Regions from separate parts of the Homo sapiens genome. Here regions 1 and 2 are each linked to region 3. Evidence: promoter capture Hi-C in human tissues and cell types (Jung and others, 2019). All regions are on one chromosome and are shown on one strand. The core of a region is centred on a gene start or on the middle of the fragment in contact, and the rest is flanking DNA. Distances in the headings are between cores, read along the strand shown. Region 1 overlaps SLC37A1 (solute carrier family 37 member 1). Region 2 has its middle 37 kb from the start of ABCG1. Region 3 holds the start of TMPRSS3 (transmembrane serine protease 3).

Region 1 (2,700 bases), core at 51-2,550, 170 kb after region 3:
GGGCTGCAGCAGCCTGCGACCTGCCACCTGCACCCTGCACCCCTGGTGGTGAGAGCAGCTCAGGCTGGCTCTTGGGCCACGTCAGGTAGCCAGGAACCTGGCGGTGTGACCTGAACAGGGTCCGGCCAGGAGCCAGGGCAGGTGGCCCCCCAGCCACCTCCTCCCAGCTTTGTCAGCTGCCCCTCCAGGAGCGGTTGCGTAACCTTGGAGGACTATTTTGAACACCCTGCAGGCAGCGCTATCAAACTATGCCTCCAGCACTTAGAAGTATGCTTTCTGTCCTAATGAGCCAGCAGTGGGGATGTGTGGTCCCCTTAAATGTTATCCAGAAGGCAGCTTGCCCACAGGAGAGGAAGCGGAATTTCCTGTGACCCCCCCTCAGGCCAGAAGCTTCCTCACCTGAGTGTGAGCCTAGAGGAGAGTTTAGGAAATGACCTGGTCCGGAGAGAGGGTGGGGGTCTGCCCTCAGCGAGCACCACAGCAGCTGTGGGTGAGGAGAGGAAGGCCTTTCTGCTGCAGATGAAGCAGGGGTCAGCCCAGGCCCAGGGTCCGGCCTGTGATCGCTCCCTCATGGTGGCAGCTGCTGCCCTTCGAGGGTGGATGAGCCTGAGTCTTAGGGAGGGTATGATTTGCTTTAGCTCCTCACTAGACAAGTTTAGAGGAAGCTGTTTCTGCTGCATCCCCTCCCTGTGCTCCCCAGGCGCCCACCTCAGGCTGCTCCTATGCATGCGGGGCTCTCTGGAGGGCACATTTCCATTCTTTGCCCCTCTGCCTCCCACAGCCATGCTGCTGCTCAGCGGAGCCCTGGTCAGTGGGCCCTACACACTCATCACCACCGCCGTCTCCGCCGACCTGGTGAGTAGAACCGGGAGAGACACCAGCCCTGTGGGCACCCTGCCATGTGCCATTCATGACAAAAGTGGCCTCCATTACTGTTAGTAAAACTGCATTTGCAGAAGCACGTTTTTGGCAGCTCACCTACACCTGTGGTCTCCAGCCTTCCCGCACCTGCCCCGCTGCTCACCCTTCTCCTAAAATCATGGGCAGGTTGGTGCAAAACTCACCGTTCAGCACAACAAAAGGCTCTTGGGCGCCATCCTCATGACTCAGGCGCCTTTTCAATCCAAGGGGGCAGGGGAGAGGTCCTGTCCTGGACGCCTCTGCAGAGAGAGAGGGGCCACGAAGAGGCGCTGGGGGATTCGGCCCTTCTCATCCAGGTACCATGCCCTGCCTTGGTCACCTTTGTATTGGACGTGTCCTGAAACTGCCTGAGTGTGCGTGAGCATGCAGACTTGTGTCTACATGGGCATGGAAAATTCTGGAAGGATCCACATCAGACCATTAGCAATGGTCAGCCTTCACGGGGTAGAGGCAGAGGAGAGACTTTCACTTATTTTTTAGACTTCAAAATACGTAGGTTCTGGATGATTTTCATATTGTGTGTTCTTTATTTTATATACATATTACGTGCATATACAAGCATTTATTTTTTTGAACGCTGGTTCATTTTTATAGTTTTAGGCTTCTAGGCACTGTTTCCCCTGATCTTTTTCCCCTCCTATTGTCCTCATTTTGGCTTTTTTCCCATTGTCTATGCAACATTTTCAAAACCAGAGCTCCTGGCGGCTGCTCACCGAGGACCTGCGCCAGCCTTGGTTTCTCAGCTCTCCCCTCCTCCCTTCTTCCCCTGGCGTTTGCTATTGATCAGGTTGAATTTTAGGTCCTGCAGAGACATCTGACAGGGGTCCCAGGAAGGCCCTGGCTGTCGAGGAATCCAGCAGACACGTGGATGTGTCTGGGAAGGAAGGCCGGCGCAGCTCAGGGCAGGGGCGCGCGTTGCGCACCTTCACGCCTCTCACGCTGGCTGCTCTGGGGCCTCAGGGAGGAGCAGGACTGTGCGGAACAAACGTTTTTTATTTGAAGAGAATCCTAAGAGTTCTTGTAACTAGAACCAAGCATTTCTGATGACTTTTGACTCTTAAAAACCCTTGAAGTTTTAACTCTCCAAGGCAAGCTTGGGGTGGAGTTTAAATAATGGGAAACACCCTCACGATGAGTTGTTTTGCAGAGCAGTTTGAGTAAATGGTCATACAGAGGCTTAGGTTTACTTCTCATGCTGTGGCGATAACTGCACGTCTGTTTTTCCTCTCTTCTAGGGGACTCATAAAAGTCTGAAAGGCAACGCGCACGCCCTCTCCACCGTGACGGCCATCATTGACGGGACGGGCTCTGTAGGTGCGCAGAGAGTTTTAGCTCTGGGAGGTTTGGTGTCTTAGGGGAAATCACATTGTCACATGCTCGTGAACAGGTACCCAGGGTTCCAACTGCATCTATAACATTGGGTGGGCCGGCTTCTTACTATACGAGCAGATGAGCAGGGGACATCGGCACACAGAGATGGTCACGCATGCCTGGGTGGCTTCAGAGAGACGGGCGTGTGACTAGCTGTGCGTGTCCAGGTTTTCACCCGAGGCAGTGGTTGGCAAACTACAGCCCGTGGGCTAACTCAGGTCCACTCATTATTTATCGCCTTCATCTCAAGAAAGGCAGAATCTTATTTAAATTACAGAAAAACCAATTGGTCCAAAATCATACAGGGTTCTGAGTGTTACCAGCATCGTCGAAGCTCTTGAAGAGAATTCAGTGGCATATTCTGGAATTTAAAAAGGTGGCAGAATAAGCAAGCCATCCCCTTAGGGA
Region 2 (2,700 bases), core at 185-2,684, 210 kb before region 3:
TAGGTAAATTTTTGTAAATGTTCTGCTTGTGCCTGAAACATGCCTGTGTTCTCTCATGTCACAGATGCGGCTGGTGTCACCTATGTCTCTGGGGCTCTGTCATTTTGGGATGTTCTGTATAACTCGCAACTAGCAGTGACTGCATCTCTGTGTTAGAAGGCATTTCTGGAAATACGGAAGGCAGGGCAGGCCAGAAGTACTTGGGAATTGACATTCCTAGGAAAAGCCATGAGACAGTGAGGATGAGAGCTGGGGAAAGGCCCTCTCCTGTCTACAGACATGTTTGTTTTACTGTCCTGGTGAACTGAAGCTTTGTCATTGAGTACTGACACTCTATTTATTGCTCATGGTTTTGCCTTACATTTATTTTTCTGATATTTACATGTATTCTTTGGTTAATGTTTTCTTGCTATTTCTCTTCTCTCTTTTTAGTTTTTTATATGGAAATGTCTAAACATAAAATAGAGAGCTTCGTGTAACAAACTACAATGATGCAGCTTCAAGAATCAGCAGAAAACCAACTTTTGTATTTTAAACCTGTTTTTAAAGAACTAAGTTGGCTTTTGAATTTTCTCTCTTGGAGATGTTTTTCAAAGAACCAGACCATTCATCCATTCTACCTATGTCTGATTTCTAACTCAGGGACTTCTACTTTTACCTATATTAATTCCTTCTTTTTACTTTTTTTTGCCAGGTATAAGGTTTGTTTTAAACTTCAATTATTCTACCCTTCATTTTCAAAATTTTTAATGTGATTCTCTTTTTATATCTTTTTTCTTTGTTTAATAATTTCTTCTGCTTCTTTTACATTTGAATAATTTCTTCAGTATTTCCGCCAGAATGTCCTATAAAATTAATTCTATTTGATGTGAATGCATGCTTCTAATGTTTCCAATGCTAGTTTTGGGGATCGGTCATTTGGGCTGGAATCCAGGTCTGCTGGCCCTGGTTTTCAGATAGCTCTTCACTCAGTTATGTGACTCCATGGCATTAAAAAAGGCTTTGAAAGGCCAGGTGCAGTGGCTCACGCCTGTAATCCCAGCACTTTGGGAGGCTGAGGTGGGCAGATCACTTGAGGCCAGGAGTTCGAGACCAGCCTGGCCAACATGGTGAAATCCTGTCTCTACTAAAAATACAAAAAATTAGCTGGGCGTGGTGACACGCACATGTAGTCCCAGCTACTCAGGAGGCTGAGGCAGGAGAATTGCTTGAACCCAGGAAGTGGAGGTTGCAGTGAGCTGAGATCACTCCACTGCACTCCAAGCTGGGTGATAGAATGAGACTCCATCTCAAAAAAAAGTGGGGGGAGCTTTGAAAGCCTCACAAATTAGGCAGACAACTGTAAAAACTTAAACAAACTATTATGAAGGCTTAGTAAGGTATTCAAAGCCAGTGGATTGTTAGACGTCTCCATGTGTTTTAGAATTGTGGTTTGCAAGCTCATGTTGCATGAGAACTTGAGTTTCTGTTTTTTTGTCCCCCAACCAAGGAGCAGCTCTGGGCCCCCTCTCTGCCAGCTCCCTCCCATCCCAAGGCTCACCTGGGCCAGCCTCCTTCTCCCTAGGGGCTGGGGCTTGTCTAGCAGAGTCTCAGCACTGCCATCTGTGAAACCCATCCCCTCCCTTGCCCACAGTGTCCTTGGCCAAGGAGCCCTAGCCCAGCCCAGCCCAGCCAGCGGCAGCAGCAGCTTTTTCTCAGTCACTTTCACCAGCAGGGCTGGCCTGACCCCTGCCCTGCTTTAAGCAGGGAGCTGTCTCCATCCCCACCTCACTCCTGACCCTCCAGCACCTGCCTCCAGCCCCAGAGCCCAGCCAGCCATCCTCAGCCATGGGCATCCCAAACCTGGCTTTGGGTATGGATTTGTTCTTCTAGGTTTTATGTTTGAGGCAGCACCATGTCCCCACACCACCCTGCCTATTCGTGAAGAGGTCTGGAGAGGTGGTGTGACTGCACAGCATCAGGGACTGGTCAGCTGAGGGATGAGGGCTGGAATCCAGGCCTGCCGGCCCGACTCTCAGGGCACACATCACTCTGGCAGGGGACTTCATGACATTAAACAAATTAGGCAGACAAGTGTAAAAACATACAAACTATTCTGAGACTGCTTAGTAGATAAGCTATTCAAAGCCAATGGTTTATTAGAAGAGGGAAAAATATATGTGTGTGTGTGGTGTAAGTGTGTCTGTGCGGTGTGTGTAGTGTGTGTATGTGGTGGGGTGTGTGTGTGGTGTGTTTGTGTGGTATATGTCTGGTGTGTGGTGTGGTGTATGTATGGGAGATGTGTGGTGTGTGATGTGTGGTGTGCATGTAGTGTGTATGTAGTGTCTGTATGGTGTGTGGTCCGGTGTGTGGATGTGGTGTGTGGTGTGTGTGATGTATGGTGTGTGGTACACTGTGTGCATGTGTGTGTGTGTGGTATGGTGTGTGTGATGTATGGTGTTGTGTGTGTGTGTGTGGTATGTGGTATATGTATATGTGATATGTGTGTGGTATGTGTATGAGGTGTGTGGTTGTGTGTGTGAGGTGTGTGGTGTAGTGTGATGTGGTGTGTGTCTGAGATGTGTGGTGTGGTGTGTGTAGTGTGTGTGTTGTGTGGCATGTGTGGTGGTGTGTGTGTGAGGTGTGTGGTGTGGTGTGTGTTTATGGTGTGTGTGTGTGAGGTAGGTGTTTTGTGTTGTATGTGTTGTGTGTGGTATATGA
Region 3 (2,700 bases), core at 84-2,583:
GCGTCCAAGCCCTGACTTCCAGAACCGGCAACCCCACAGCTCCCTTTGACCAGTCCTGACTATCTCTGGTCAAAAAGATCCTAGCCGTATAGGTTGCTAGAGAGTCCACTGTTTTATCAGGCATTTGTGACTTATTTACGAAACCAACTTTTTTCCTTCAGTTGTTAGGAGCCACTCCGTCATCTGCTGCTGGATTTTAATCTAGGCCTCTAATATCTTTGGCGACATCCAGTTTATCCTGAGTTTTCGGAGGGACTGGTGGCCACTGCTTCTCAGGACTTCCTGGAGGACTCAGAGATTTCCTGGCCAGGATCTGACCTCCTTCAGGATTGACAGGACAATTGTGGAGCCCCAGTCTCTGAAAACCTCCAACAAGAGAAGAAAACACCGGTCTCCAGGGAGAGAGCAAAGGGCTTAACGAAACGATCCCCTCTCCAATGCCCCTTCTCCCTGAGATTCTGCAGATCTAGGGAAGTGCAGGTGTCCAGCCTGTGGGTGTCAGAATGGCTGGGGAGATATTTCCCCCACAGGGACAGTCAGTCACATTGGTCACCTACATGAGGGTATGGGCAGAAATCACAGAGTCCTCACCTGGGTCCACTTACCTGGTGCAACAGGACTTATTTTCAAATCATCAAGGCCAAAAAGCGATCGGAATGAGAAGGGGGCTTCAACAGCAGGCGGATCATTTTCCCCCATGGTGACTATTTCAGGACCTCTGACATCCGGCTCCGCCTCCACCTCTACCTCCTTAGCCGAGGAAGAACAGAAAGCATTTGTTCCCCTATTTATACTTGTAGCATCAGGTGCATCTTGGTCATACGGTAAATCTTTGAAATTCGACAGTCCACACAAAGCGCATTCAGTATCGATTAACCAAAAACAGTCATCTGGTGAGAATGCATTTTCGTCTGAGCTACAGCAGATAACAGAAAAGCTTCTAGAATTAGCAAAAAAAAAAAAAAAAAAAAAGTATGAACTTAATTCTGCTAAGACAATGACTTTCCCATTGTTTGTCCAACCAATCTTCAAATCGATTGCTTTAGAGGGACTCCCTCTCACCATTTAGAAGTTGCCATATTGCTATTGTTCAGAAGATAAATTACTCTCAAAGCCCTTTCCATTGCTTTTTTGCGATTGTTTTCACCTGTCCCACATAAACGCAATTCTTTCCCTGTGCGTGTGGTACACCTACCATAAGCATAAGTAGTTTCGGTACTCACATAATTCCCGAGTCCCAAAAATGTAGATGGCACCACGGAAGAGATAGTAGGCCACAGTGTTACTGGCTTCCCATAAACACAGCCCTTTCCTGGCTCACACGGGCATGACCTAATTAAGAACGAAAGTACCCGAGCCGTCCGGTGCCCGGTCCTTCCCCCACATAGCAAAGTGGGGAGTGGCTTTGGACCAACGGCTTGCATCAAAATAACCCCGGGGCTGTGTTTCCTACGAAAGAATTCCACCTATCACAATGCCAAGGAGACCAGAGACCTTTCTAAGTCATTCCCTGTAACTCTGAGAGGGCGGAGGAAGCAGGGAAATAGCAGAAGATTCCCAATTAAATTCTAGTTCCCTCTCCCAGATATCAGGCATGGCTGCTCTGGGAACCTGCTTCCTCCAAGGGCTAAAATCCACAGGGGCTCCAGCAGGCACATCAGCACAGACACTCAGATCATCCGCTTTCATTCCCTTTGTGACTACCTGTTGTAACGTTTGAAATTCCAAAGGGATCTAGTAAGCCATTTGAAGCAACCCGTGTTTCCCAAGATCATAGTAAAATCTAAACAAGAGTTCTGTGCCAAAAATGTTCATTTCATTTCTATCGCAAGAAGAGCTTGAAAGAGTAACTTAGAAAAGCAAGAAGTTCATGTTGGGCCATTTTCTGGCTTTCATTCTTGCTGATACCTCTGTTTATTATCAGCATGTAGCAAATTACATCGTTTATCCATATAAAAAGAATAAGTGGGCAAATGGCTTCTGAAAGATGGAACCTGGGTGAGAACATCCCCTCCCAAACAGGCTGTGGTTGGCAAGCTGTACAACACTGAGAAGTGTTGAGAAGCATCTTCTCTCCTCACACCCATTTTACTCACCATTTCTGGAGCTGCCATCATTAAAAGCAGAAATAATTTCCTTTTTCATTATAAAAACAAGTGTGATGGTAAGCAGGCCGCCAACAGGTTAGTCCAATCGGGGAATATTTTCCCCAAGTCACTCAGCCTTGTCGACTCAATCATCGCAGCAAATGGCATTATCGCGGGCATCTGTGTAACCCAAGCTGCCGTGGGCCTATCAAATAGCCCTTGGTGGTATGGCTGCAGAGACCAGGGAGGGAAAAATGTGGCTTCCCTTTAATTAGTCAGTAAGGTGAGCAAACCTTTTCAGAAGCTTTGCATCAGGGAGTGATCGGAACACAGCCGCTCCTTTTACTTGAAAGAAGGGGTAGGCTCTGCCCAGTGCTGAGCATGTGACCGTCAAGAGGGCAGACATACTCTCTGGTGGGGGTTTCTGTCCCTCCCTGTAACTGAGCCCCCAAGTTCAATTCTGCAGCTACTCCTGCAGACAAAAGATGGGGAGCCTGAAGATGCTCATCACAGCCTGCGCTCCACAAAAGACACGTCATGTTTCCTTCCTCGGAGGCCTCTGCATCCCAAGAGGCTTCTGCACACAGCACTGCTTAAAGGGGTTTAACCGCTG

Evidence for each region. The method cuts DNA at HindIII sites, captures the fragments that hold promoters and counts their contacts. A contact is called where the count stands out against the background at its distance.
Region 1: a contact is called between a fragment that was not itself captured here and the fragment with the promoter of TMPRSS3 in region 3, in 2 of the 25 tissues and cell types used here (mesenchymal stem cells and spleen).
Region 2: a contact is called between a fragment that was not itself captured here and the fragment with the promoter of TMPRSS3 in region 3, in 2 of the 25 tissues and cell types used here (lymphoblastoid cells and mesenchymal stem cells).

The regions. Positions count from the first base shown.
Region 1 is chr21:42,566,204-42,568,903 of GRCh38, forward strand. SLC37A1 (solute carrier family 37 member 1) reads left to right here. Exons shown (of 20, transcript NM_001320537.2): 16 at 782-855; 17 at 2,157-2,235. Among named protein-coding and RNA genes, the nearest start is that of LINC01671, 48 kb to the right of the region's middle. RefSeq lists an enhancer at 1-409. The HindIII fragment of the contact is 4,706 bases long and covers 1-2,700 here.
Region 2 is chr21:42,181,226-42,183,925 of GRCh38, forward strand. No RefSeq gene overlaps it. Among named protein-coding and RNA genes, the nearest start is that of ABCG1, 37 kb to the right of the region's middle. The HindIII fragment of the contact is 4,033 bases long and covers 1-2,700 here.
Region 3 is chr21:42,394,719-42,397,418 of GRCh38, forward strand. It overlaps TMPRSS3 (transmembrane serine protease 3), which reads right to left and starts at 1,334. Exons shown (of 13, transcript NM_001256317.3): 1 at 1,224-1,334; 2 at 606-750. The coding sequence starts at 699. RefSeq lists an enhancer at 1-626. The HindIII fragment of the contact is 3,128 bases long and covers 82-2,700 here.